2 separate regions of the Homo sapiens genome follow, and region 1 is linked to region 2. The links are contacts of gene promoters, found by promoter capture Hi-C in human tissues and cell types (Jung and others, 2019). All regions are on one chromosome and are shown on one strand. Each heading gives the region's core, a stretch centred on a gene start or on the middle of the fragment in contact. The rest is flanking DNA. Distances are from core to core; before and after follow the strand shown. Region 1 overlaps SLC12A8 (solute carrier family 12 member 8). Region 2 holds the start of HEG1 (heart development protein with EGF like domains 1).

Region 1 (6,247 bases), core at 1,632-4,131, 130 kb after region 2:
GGGAAACAAGAGCAAAACGGCGTCTCAAAAACAAAAAACAAAAAACAAAACAAAATTCCCAGATTAAAAAAAAAAAAAGAAATGGACAAATTCCTAGGAAGATATAAACTATCAAAACTAAATCAAGAAGAAGTAGAAAATCAGAATATGCCTATATAAGTAAAGAGATTCCATTAGTAACCAAAAAACTTTCTATCAAAAAAAACCCAGGACCAGATGGCTTCATGGCAAAATTCTACCATATGTTTAAAGAATTAACACCAACCCTTCACAAACTCCTCCAAAAAATAGAGAAGGAGGGAACACCTTCCAACTCAGTCTACGAGGCCAGAATTAGCCTGACACCAAAACCAGACAAAGAATCACAAGGAAACTACAGACCAATATCCCTCATGAATATATACACAAAAATCCTCCACAAAATGTTAACAAACCAAATTCAGCAATTTATAAAAAGGATTACACACTAACCACACCCTGATCAGGGACTCCTGGCCCGCGCCAGCGACAAACAAAGCACAGGCACTCCAGAGACAGTGACCAGGGGGACTCTAATGTTTGGGACCAGGGCCCAAGTGGAAAGGCAGGAAAATAGCTGGGATGCTGGTGCAGTGGCGTCTCAGGCCGTGGCTGCCAGCACTTAGAAAACATCTTATCTGTGAACATCTTTTTTCCAAATCAGCCCATGTAAGTGGGACTCTCAGCAGCACAGATGCCTGTCTTTGTCCAGGGGTGTTCACACCAGTGCCCATCCATGGCATCTGCCTCTAGAGGCTCACTTGGTGTCTGTACCGAGAGGGGGAAAGCAGGATTTTGCCTACCTTGCAGCCTGGTTGGCTATAAAATAGCAGAGAAGTAAAAAAAAAAAAAAAATTTATATACCAAGTCCCCAGGGTAATAAAGTAAACTGACCATTTATTACTCCCCTCTCCAACTACTATACTTAAATAACTTTCTGCAGTCAAGGCAAGTGCTTTTTAAGAGTGCAGAGGCCATCTGTTTGCCTTTCCTGCACTGTCTTAGACACACACAGGCACCCCCACCGCCCACACATGCACACACGCAGCTCTGTGCTGTTCGAGAATCAGATATATTTATGCTGAAACACCCTGCTCCTGCTGCCTAAAAATAAAAGAAACAAAACCGATGCTTTCTCTGGGGAGATTCTTGCACACTCTAACTTAGACAAATTCTTCTCTTTAAACTGTTTTTTCAACCACCCACCACCATTTGCACTCTCATAAAAGCCTTTTTCAATCCAAGAAATGCTGACAAAGAACTGCTTCTTAATGTCTGTACTTTGTTCCCTCAGCATTAAGTCACCATGCCTGTGTTTTAGCTAAAAAAGCCTTAGGATTTCCCCCTACTCGCTCGTTTTCGGAGTGCCTCCGTCCATTCTGATGAAGCACACTCCTCATTAACATTCTCCCTCTCAGACAGGGCGTCCACACAAGAGGCTGTCAGCCTCCCTGTGAAGGCCACCCGAGCTATCAAATGCTCCCGGGAGCTCCTGCTCATTTGAGAAGTGCCTGCTTCTAGGAAAGCCCTTTGGCACAGGCAAAATACCCATCTTCAGTAAAAAAGCGTCCCAGGGCCCAGGCCACCTGGCTGCCACCTGGCTGCCACCTGGGCTTCAGCCACTGTCATGCAATCTGGTCCCCAGATTGAACAGCAAGAATGTGCTGGCCAGGCCCTGCCCTGCTGGTCACATCAGGCATCCAGGAGGCGGGAGTGGCAGAGGGAAAGGAGTGCTGGACTAAGAGGTCAGGCCCTGGATAGTGACTTGACTCTCTGCTGAATTCCCTTCAGAGCCCCAACCTGCTCGTCTGTCACATGCGGCAATTGTCCCCACCCTCGCTTCTCCCCAGGTCAAGTGAGGAAATGGACAAGAAGAAAGTGGCAGAGGGCCAGGCAGGGGAAGCATCCCGGGCGCAGGCCTCACCTGTCCAAACACATAGAGCAGCCCGATGGTGCCTCCCGTCTGCCCACCCAGGACCGAGGAGATCATGGAGTAGACGCCACCGCTGCCGATGCTGCTGCGCTCCCCGACGCCAATGCCAGACAGCACCGTGACGAGGGCCACCAGGATGACGAAGGACACCAGGAACATGCCCAGGAGCACTCCTGTGTTTCCCTGCAGCAGAATAGCAAGGAGCAAGGTTGGATTAGGTGAGGAGGCCCCGCCAGCTCCCTGCTGGGGGCATTGACCACCTCCCCTCCTCCCACAGCACTGGAATAGGGGCCAGGGGTGGGGGCACAGAGTCAGGACAACTAAAAAGGACAAAGCAAGCACCACAACAGCCAAGGCCAGGAAGAAGTTCTAAGTGAAAGGAAGCGTCCTGGCTGCAAATTCTTCAATGACTCTCCCACCTATAGGGTACAGTCAGAGCTGCTGATGCCCTCACGAGGTGCCTCCTAATCTCACTTTGTGCCTGACGTGCAGCGACAAGTTCTCTCCCCACCCCCACCCCTCCTCATGCTGATTCCCCTGCCTGGAAGGCCTCTCCTGCTCATTCTGTACCTTTGTCAGGTTAACTCCAGCATATCCTTTAGGCCTCAACGTTTAGGATTTCTCACCAGGAAGCTGGCCCTGTAACCCTTTCTCTGGGCTCCTCCAGTGCCAGGGCTTAGTACTTTTCACAGGACTTGTCATATTGAGTCTGTTTCCAAGCCAGTTTTGACCTCTAGGCTGTGAGCTCCAGGGGAGGATGATATGGTTTAGATGTTTGGATTTGGATCCCTTCCAAATCTCATGTCGAAATGTGATCCCCAATGTTGGAGGTGGGGCCTGGTGGGAGGTGTTTGGGTCATGGGGGTGGACCCCTCGTGAATGGCTTGGTGTCCTCCCACAGTAATGGGTGAGTTCTCACTCTGTTCGTTCACAGGAGAGCTGGTTGTTTAAAAGAGCCTGGCATCTCTCTTGCCTTCTCTCCGGCTACGTGGCACGCTGCTCCCTCTTCACCTTCCCCCATGAGTGAAAGCTTGCTGAGGCCTCACCAAGTGCAGATGCTGGTGCCATGCTTCTTGTACAGCCTGCAGAACTGTGAGCTAAATAAACCTCTTTTCTTCATAAATTAGCCTCAGGTATTCCTTTATAGCAATGTAACATGGACTAATACGGAGCAGGATCATGTTTTCTTCCCCTTCATATTCTCAGTGCTTAGCATAACCTCCACAAAATAGGTGTTCATTAAATGCTTGTTGAGCGAATAAACAAACCATGCATGGCTGGAGATGAACACATGTAGACAGACACATTTCAGTGTGAAAAGCAAGAGTCGCAGAGAGGCAGTGGACACAGCACTTCTAAGAAGGAGATGTAATGTCACATGTTTTGCAATAGAAAGCAAGGAAGACTCCTGATAGTCAAGACTTCATGTGTTGTGAGTGCTGGAGAGGGTCCTAGGAGTGGGCAGAGCCAGTTCAAGAGCTGAGTGGCCTAACATGAGCTGGAAAATTGTCCTGGAAGTCAGTTGTACTCTGTTCCAGTGTTTATAATATAATGCTCAAGGGCTCCACTGCTGGTCTGAGACCCACCCTGGCTGTGGCTAAGGCCGAAACCTGAGCTGAGGATCTGAGTGTGGTGTAGAATGAGAGCTTAGGAAGGTCTGGTCTTGCCCAGACTTCTTATGGGGGCTAAGAATCCTGTACATCCCACTATAAAGGAGCTTAAATCTCCCCAAATTTGCCTATGTAATGGTTAATTTTATATGTCAACTTGGCTAGACTACGGCAACTAATTGTTTAGTCAAACACTAGTCTAAATGTTGCTGTAAAGGTGATTTTCAGATGTGATTAATATTTACTATCAGTTGACCTTAAGTAAAGGAGATTACCCTCCATAGTATGGGTGGGCCTCGTCTAATCAGTTGAAGGCCTTACAAGCAAAGGCTGGTTTCCCAAAGAGGAAGGAATTCTGCCTCCAGGCTGCAATACAGAAATTCTTCCTGCATTTCCAGCCTTCAGACTCAAGACTGCAGCATCAATCCTTACCTGCTAATATATACATGACATACTTACATCTCCTGTTGGCATTGGCCTGTTTCTCTGGAGAATCCTGACTAGTAGATTCTACACCTTGAATGGCCTCCTCTCTTTCACCCATCTAGTCCAGCTCACCCTTCAAAGCCTGGCTCAACTGCATCTCCTCCAGGAAGGCTTCCTGACACCTCAGTGACTGCAGCACTCATAGCCTGTTCCACCCCAAGGGACTTAATGCTGTTTTCAGAACTCTCCTAATGCAATATCTACCCACCACAGCTGTTAGCTCATAGGGCGGGGCGGGGAAGAGAGGAGGGGATGAGGGCCCAGGCCATGTCTTGTCTTTTGTGATCCCACTGGCACTAAGTAGTGCTTGGCCCACAGCAGGTGCTCATCCATGTTTAGATGGTGACTGGCTTGCCTTTTGTTCTGCGCACCTGTGTGGTCTACTGAAGTCCCACTGCATGAGATGGCACTGTGTGTGGGACTGAGAACCCCTGCCCCAGGCACACATCTGCTTGGAAGGTCCTAGGATGCTTTGCATAAGAATTAAAGAAGAGGCCTTTTGTTCCTTCTACAGGGGGAGATGAACTGACCCCCAGGATCTCACACAGCAGAGTCCATCCTAGGCAATCCATCCCTAGAGGTAGGCGGCCCACACCTCTGACCAAGCATCCCCATGCACAGTCTTACCTACAGGGTTGCAGTGTGGTGGGGGAAGGCAACCATGTGGGCGGGCCCAAGATGAAGTGAAGAATACCGGGAAAACTACAGAGGGCCACAAGCTGGAGGCAAAATTGCCATCAATCTGATCTCTCTGACCCATCTCAAGTCCGGCTCATGATGAGCCCTGACTTCTGTGCTCCTATTCTGCAGTTAAATCTATGGTGTGAGGTTTCCATTAGAAATTCGGAAGCCTATCTTCACAGGATGCTCATTTAACAAGCAATGCTAGCTATTCATCGTGCTTGCTTCTGTTTCGTGTTTCAGGAGCATCTGTGCTTCAGGAATCTGTGGCCTGCACTGTAGAATGCAAGAGTGGCAGAGCTTTCCTGTCTTGGGCCCGTGAGAGGCTCCAGGCCACCAACTCAGCACTCACCACCAGCCAGCCAGTCCTCAGGAAGAGCACAACCCCAAAGATGTTGATCATGCAGGATGTGAACACACCATCCCAGGTCCCAAACAGCACAGGCTCCCACATGAACAGCTGGGTCTTCCACCAGGGCTGGGGCTGGGCCAGGGCATCCTGCAAACAGAACACACAGAAATCAGCTGAGGGGCCATTGGGAGGGCCAGGGATGGCATGAGAGTGGAACAGGAGGAGGGAGGTAGGAGAACTCAGCTTAAAAACAGTCCTGTCTTATTGTGCCAGGGCAAGTGTGTGTGTATACACACATGCATGCACATACACACACATGCGCACACACACATCTTGAAGCATACCTCTACAAAAGGATCACTGTTCTCTTGTAACAACAGTGATTCCGTATCCATATGTAGCAGAGACTCATTATTCACAAACGTAGTCCTTTTCCTCTGGTCATCACTCAAGTAGTCAGGGAGTCAGGTAGACTCCCAGCCTCTTTGCAGCTAGAAGTGGCTGTGTGACTGAGTTCTAGCCCATGGAATGCAGGCAGAAGCAATAGATGACACTTCTAAGTGAGTGTGAGATTCTGGGTTTCACCTCCTGGGGCTCATGGTCATGAGCCCTCTTCATCCTCCAGTCCTAGCAGGGACAGCAGCTTCCGGCAGTTGACATTTGGCCAACCTTACTGAAGCGCTCTTTGCTCCTTCAGCCCTTCTAACACCTCTGCAATCAGCCCTGTGGATGAGATTCCCTGTTTAAAATGACTGAAGTTATTTCTGTTTTCCTTACTGAGCACTAATACAGTGATCTCTGCTGATACCCCAGGATTCTTCAGCATTACTGGACAATTGTTTGGAATCAGAGGCGAATAATGAAAAAACAGATTCCTTGCTCATTTTTCCAATTCACAAATAACAAAGGCACTTATAAACACTCAAATGGAAACCCTTTACTAAAAAAACCATAACTTCGTGGATATACTAAAATGATCTTAAACAAAACCAGTAGTAACTCACACTGTGAATGCTCTTATGTAGGTTTGGCAATTAATCTAAACTCAGGCATGAACAGAGTCTTCCAGTGACCACAAACGACTACAGCAGTGATTACGGTTCTCAGCTGGGTGGGGTGGGTGGGGAGAGAGAGGCATCCAAAGCTAGGAGTCACTGTGTGCAATGA
Region 2 (6,114 bases), core at 2,990-5,489:
AAGAAGGCAGTAAGTGGCTAACAAAACCACAACTGCCATCTGTTCTTTGCTTTCTTTCTGAGTGTCTCTGGACAAGGACAAGTTAAATTCAGGAACACTGTTTTCAGCCAGCTGGGCGGGGCTGCTGGAAGGCAGGAGGGATCACCAGGAGGGCAGAGGCTCCTTCCCCAGCCTCCAGGACAAGGATGCAGAAACTGCCCAGCTGGGCAGCAAATACCTTTCAGTCTCCCTCAGTCCACACCATTCGGGTCTCTGGCAAAACATAACAGTTCAGCATGTGCACACAGGCTGAGGAAAGCAATAAAAGGGTTCTTGCAAGGTAAAAAGGATGTGGCTTTTAAACACTCATGCACCACGGAGAGTCCCTTGCCCCCTCCCGCCTCCCCCCCTTCTATTTGGGACACCCTCCATCAAAGCAAACAGGCTTCTCAGGAATCCCCACTACCACCACCCCCAAGCCTCCGCCAGGAGTGAGGTAGCCGCCTTCTGGAGGGAAGCCACTCTCCCCTCCCTGAGGGGCTGTCTCTTGCCCGCTGCACCTTGTAATGGTTCTCCCAGCAGCCAAGCTAAATGACGAAGTTGGCCCACAAAGTTAGAGCAATTCAGGCGACAGCTATTTAACAGCTCAGACGGGGCTCAGCTCAAAGCGCTTCCTTTCCTCCAGGGAGCTGCATTTTTCTAAGATTATTGTTTCTCGGGCTGGCTGCTCAGCTACTCAGCGTCATTTCCCCTTTGGGTGGGAAAGTTCTTTCCTTCTGCATTGATTTTCATTATGATTTAAGCCTTCTCTCCCTCTCATCTGCAGATCTCACAATTAAAGCATAGCATATGGATCACAAAATTAAGGCATATAAACTTTGCATTCAGCTTAGAACTGTGGCTCGGAAGTCCTGAGTGGTAGAAAAACACACGCAGAAAAAGAAAACCTCTAGGTCTCAGCATCTTGTCACCACTGGCTGAAACACCAGCAATAAACATCAGCTGAACAGCCAGCAGGGTGACGGGTGGGTGCAAAAGCTTAACAATGGCTATATAAACAGGGAGCTGCTCTCCAGGGACTTACAGTCTAATACAGGCAAACAATCCACATAATGGAATGCAAACGCGGTTACTCAGCAGTGAGAAGTTGAACTCTGCCAGGAAGAGAAGAGCTGGAAATGGCCCACAGGGAAGAAAAGGACATCTGTGGCCCTTGCTGCTGACATCAGTGTATTTGGAAGTCCCAGGGGCCAGGCCCTGACTACCAGCATCCCCATGGCACGAAAGGCCTGCAGGAAGCTTCTCCAACAACCAAATGGAGCACGTTACTTGTAAGACTCAGGGCTTGTTAGTGACAGTAGCATGGTGCCTCCCCAAACACAAAAATGCTGAGGGAGAGCCGGGATGACCATCTGTCAGGGGTGCTGGAGGGGCAGACATTTGCATGGGACACATTGCAGACTGGAGGACCTGTGGAGGCCCTCTCAGCATTGAGACCTTGCTGCCTTGTGAAATGAGTGATAGCATCTAGTGATACAGGAGGACCCATCCAAAAGGCTCCCAATCCTGGTTATCAGAAAACTCAGACTCACTGAAATCACTGAACACTGGTTTTCTTATGTGTTGTTTCTTTTTTACCCCTAAATGATACTGTTTGAGCCACTACCAGAAAAAAAAGCACAGGTCATGCCTAGATCCTTGGCCATATGAGTAGCTTCTAGCAGCTTCAACAGGTGTTCATTTCATCTCTTCTAATCGCACCTTCCTAACATCCCTTCAGAGATTGGGCCTTTGAGCCACTGAAGAGGAGGCACTCCTTGGGTGGTGTCTGTGGGGCACCAGGAGACCAAGAGAACCTACCTAGGTAAGAGAAGGTGTACACTATTCCAACTACTCTCTCGCTGCTTTCTGGGATTCTCACATGTATTCCTTCCAGTACCTCATATACCTGAAGCCTCCATCACTCACCTCTGCAAAGGAATCAAACTGGGAAAGCCACAAAACCAAGACCAGCAGTGTTACCTGCCACACCTGTGAGGGATGTTTGGGTCACATAAGGCCCCAATTCTTACCAGCTGAGTCCTCTAAGCTAGCTGCCTCCACTGTCCCTACCTCTCTGTAATACCTGTAATACCTACCTCTCTCTAGAGATCCCGCCCCTAAGAGAAGGAAAGAGACTCATGTGCCTGCCCCATCCAGCCAGGGCCCCTGCAAGTCAGTGTCCCTCCCACCTATCCCCTAACAAGATGGAGGCCATTCAGCTAAGACAGCCTGACTACTACCCAGAGAAATCTGCCTTCGGCTCTTGGGTGTCTCCTCTGAAATGTTCTCAGTTCTCTGCAGTTCACCTTCTGTTTAGAAAAACTCACAAAATACTACACAGTGTTCCTCAGTTACTTTCCTAGTTGGAGAAAGTCGGGAAATATGTTGTTTTATGTTCTTGATTCCTTCCCGTGGAAGTTAGCAAAACAGCGTATGCTGTAAGTAATCTAAAGTCACAGTCACTCCGGGATGTGTCTCCTACACGTCTTCAGAAGCTTATCTCTCCTCTCCCTTTTCTTACTGTTCCTCGGTTTCTCAATCTTATGCCAGTGATTTAAAAATTCACAAAATAAGGCATTTTGCGATAATGGGAATACTGTTGAATATGAAATTGAGTTTTTACAGGAGAACTTGATTTTTAAAAATCCAAACTTTTTCTTATTTAACTCTAAGAAGCACCTCTAGGTTGGAGGAAGCAAGCTAATTCACGTGCCAGAAAGTCTGCATGAGATGAGAAACTTAAATGAATTGTCAATTATGCAGACAAAAAACTCAACTTTCAGGGAAACTCCAAATCAATGTCCAGTGTTGCAAGCAACCCAGCTTATTTGAATAGCCCGGACAGAGCATATGCCCTGTGTCACTCACAGGAAGGCAAAGGCTAACACCACCACGTTGCTGACTTTGTTCAAAGCACTTTCCATTTATTTTTACTTTCATTTTGTCACATCATCACTAGGAGGCTAGAAGGAACAGGGATCATCACTTTCATTTCACAGATGGAGAAAGTGAGCGCAAAGAGACAGCAGTCCCAAGGTCATAATGGTATTATGGTTAGAATTCCACTCAGTATGTGGCATATTTTTCCAGATCATAAGAAAGAACTGGACACAAAGGTAGCAGGGAGAAGAGGTCAGTTCCTTCTCTCTGCGTGGGACAGGCGGTGGCTACCACGGAGCAACAGTTCATTGGGAAAGGAAAGGGGAGGGAGGAGGCTCAGGGATGGTCCTGTATCAGCCTGTGCCTTGCAGGGGTTCAACCATGCAACCCCAACCGCGTTCCTTTGCTTTTAAGTCGAACCAGTAGAGCGTTTTGTTTCAAACTACGTACATCCTTTGTCCTTTACAATATCCCGTCCTAGAACCCCTTAAAAATCAGTTATTTAGATGAGAAAGTCGAGCCCTGTACCTGGAGAGGCCAGTTCTGTATAGCGGAAAAAATGAAACTGGGGACCGGCTGGCCAGATATCGGAGGTGGGAGAGATGCTTTGCAGTCTTTTTCCCTTTCCTTTCCATTTTTTTTAAAGTGGGGTGGAAGAGATACAGGGTACCCCATAGGAAATAAGTTTTCTTCCAAAGGGTTGGAGGAGAACGGGATAGTCACACCCCTCAGTCCAGCCAACTGCGAAAGCGTCCCTCCCTACCCGCCGACCCTCAGGGTCCCGCACACGCCGGGCGAGGAGCCCCCACCCTGGGTCGCGCCGCGCGGAGGGGCCTACGGCTGGGGATGCAGCCCGGGGCGCGCCCACGCCCCCAGCACAGACTGGCCAGGCGCCAGGTTCCCGGCTCTCACTCACCCGCGCTCCCGCCTCTGGGGGCCCGGCCGGAGGGTCCCCGCTGTGTCGCGGCGCCTGGCTCAGGGGCCCTGTAGCTGGGGCCGGGGGTCGCGGGCCCGCGGCGCTCCCGGGGCGGCGTGGGCGGCGGCTCGCGCTCCGGGCGGCGCTCCAGCTGCAGCTCCAGCCCCGCTCCCGCGAGGGGCGCCAGGCTCAGCGCGCGGCGAGCCGGGGAAGGCGGCGGGTCCCGCGTCCCGGGGGCCGCCGGCGGCAGCAGCAGCAGCGGCAGCAACAGCAGCAGGAGCGGCGGCGGCCACCGCGAGGCGCGCGGCGAGGCCATGGTGACGGCGCCCGCCCGCGCTCACATGCCCGGCGCGCGGGGCGAGGGCAGCGGGCAGCGGGCAGCGGGCGGCGGGGGCCGCGCGGGGCCGGGGAAGTGAGCGGAGTGAGGCTGCGAGCGCGCTCCCCGCCTCAAAAGTTATCGGGAGCCGCGGGAGGGCTGCCGGGGGCCGGGCTGGCTGGGCGGAGGCGGCCCGCGGCGCCGCTACATGCTAATTAGCCCGGGCGGGTCGCTGGCTGGCGGGCGGCTCCTCCTCAGTTGACATCACCGGCCCCGCGCGGCGGGCCCGGAGGCGGGGAGAGGGCAGGAAGGGGGCTGGGGCCGGGCGCCTGGAGAGCGGCCCGGCCCGGGACAGCGGGATGAGGTCAGCGGAGCCACGGTGCTGCAACTTTTGTCACACACATGCTCCAGAGTCTTCTGAATCGGGCACCACCTACCCAACTCCTTAAACGCACAAGAAGTAGGTGAAAAGCAGGTCCTGGGTAATGTGATTAGCACCAGACTAGATTATCCCAAGTGCTTTGATAGGAGAGAGAAAGGGAACGGTCCCCTGGTACCCAGCCCGCGCTGTCACCGCCGTTATTGATTTGAAGTGTCCCCACTCCCACCCCCACCTCCCCTTCTTCAGGCCCCAGGGCTGGTGATGAGCTCGTGTTTGCCAAACCTAACACCTCACCCTCCGGCCAACGCGAGAATCCGAGTATCCCCCACGCCCTCTCAAGCTTGGATGCCGTTCCCATCCGACCACTGCCTTTGGCTCACACCAGAGTTCTGCAGAGATGTCACCGCGAGGACACCCAAACAGGCTGCAGGGAAAAGAAAACTGTGAATTCAGGCAGGCTAGGGCAAACTCATCATCAGGAAAAGAACTGCAGATCGCAAATTAAACCAAATGATGCCCAGAGAACACAGAATTTTAAATGGAAACCTATGGGGAAAGATTCAAAGATTTCATGTAAACAAATTTTCTTGGTCAATAAAGTTCCATTTGTTTCCATAACCTCTCCCTCCCCAGTAAATGAATAATAAACTGTCTAAAGTTTAGGACTGTAAGCCACCTCATTAAGTGAAGAAAGAGGGGCTCAAATGGGAAAATAACTTGCTCAAGATTCTGAAGGTAGACCCGAAGACGAAATGATTGATCTGTGAATGACCATGTGATATTATTAATTCTGGTCTCCTAATTCAGAGTTTGCAATAATTCGCAAACGGAAACAAATAGTATTGCAACAGAAACAAATGTTGCAGCTCCTTGGGGTTCTTGCGAGTTCTGTTGGGGGCCCCTGTCTGACAACCAAATGCTCGTGAAAATATGAGTATGCACCTCACTGTCAGGCCTGGCTCTCCATCCTATTTCTCTGCTCTTCTCTTTTTCTCTGTCTCCAGATCTCCATGACCCACCTCCAGGAGAATGAGATCGTAGTGTCCAGGGCAGCTGCAGATGGGCCTAGGCCCACTTTCTGGTGACTCAGTACAAGTGAGTCATTTGGCAGAAAAACATAAAGGAGGCTGTGTATAAACAAACTCACCTTAAATGAGAGAATGAGGAGTAAAGATTTGGTTTTATTTTGTTTTGTTTTTAAACAAACCAGCTTTCCAGGGCTCTAACACAGAACTTCCAGGTCTCTCCAAGAAAGTACCAAACAGTAATCTCCCTGAAACTGACTTGGTTTGCTCCCATGGCCTGAGCTTAACTTCTCTGGATGCTGCTCTCACATTAACAGGCAGGACTGCACAGCTGCCCAGACCCAGCCAGACAAGCCCCAACAGACTAGGACTGTGCTCAGAGGTTCTGGTCACTGCCACTCCCTCCCCTCCAAGGAGACCATGTCACATAGTACTGGTTGCACTCCCAGGCAAGTGGAAAGGTTTAAGGGTAGAATGGCCCTTACAGGCTTCTCGTGTGGATTCAGGGATCCTATGAGATAATCTGCCTTCTCTACTAAGACCCAAGGAGTAAACATGTACCTGCCACCTCCCC

The links. The method cuts DNA at HindIII sites, captures the fragments that hold promoters and counts their contacts. A contact is called where the count stands out against the background at its distance.
Region 1: a fragment that was not itself captured here is called in contact with the fragment with the promoter of HEG1 in region 2 in 1 of the 25 tissues and cell types used here (IMR-90 fibroblasts).

Annotation. Positions count from the first base shown.
Region 1 is chr3:125,185,295-125,191,541 of GRCh38, forward strand. It overlaps SLC12A8 (solute carrier family 12 member 8), which reads right to left. Exons shown (of 14, transcript NM_024628.6): 3 at 5,081-5,227; 4 at 1,943-2,134. Among named protein-coding and RNA genes, the nearest start is that of SLC12A8, 24 kb to the right of the region's middle. The HindIII fragment of the contact is 3,800 bases long and covers 982-4,781 here.
Region 2 is chr3:125,051,758-125,057,871 of GRCh38, forward strand. HEG1 (heart development protein with EGF like domains 1) reads right to left here and starts at 4,240. Exons shown (of 17, transcript NM_020733.2): 1 at 3,818-4,240. The coding sequence starts at 4,133. RefSeq lists enhancers at 81-210, 4,754-4,803 and silencers at 351-400, 3,734-3,893, 3,954-4,043, 4,124-4,503. The HindIII fragment of the contact is 8,893 bases long and covers 1,898-6,114 here.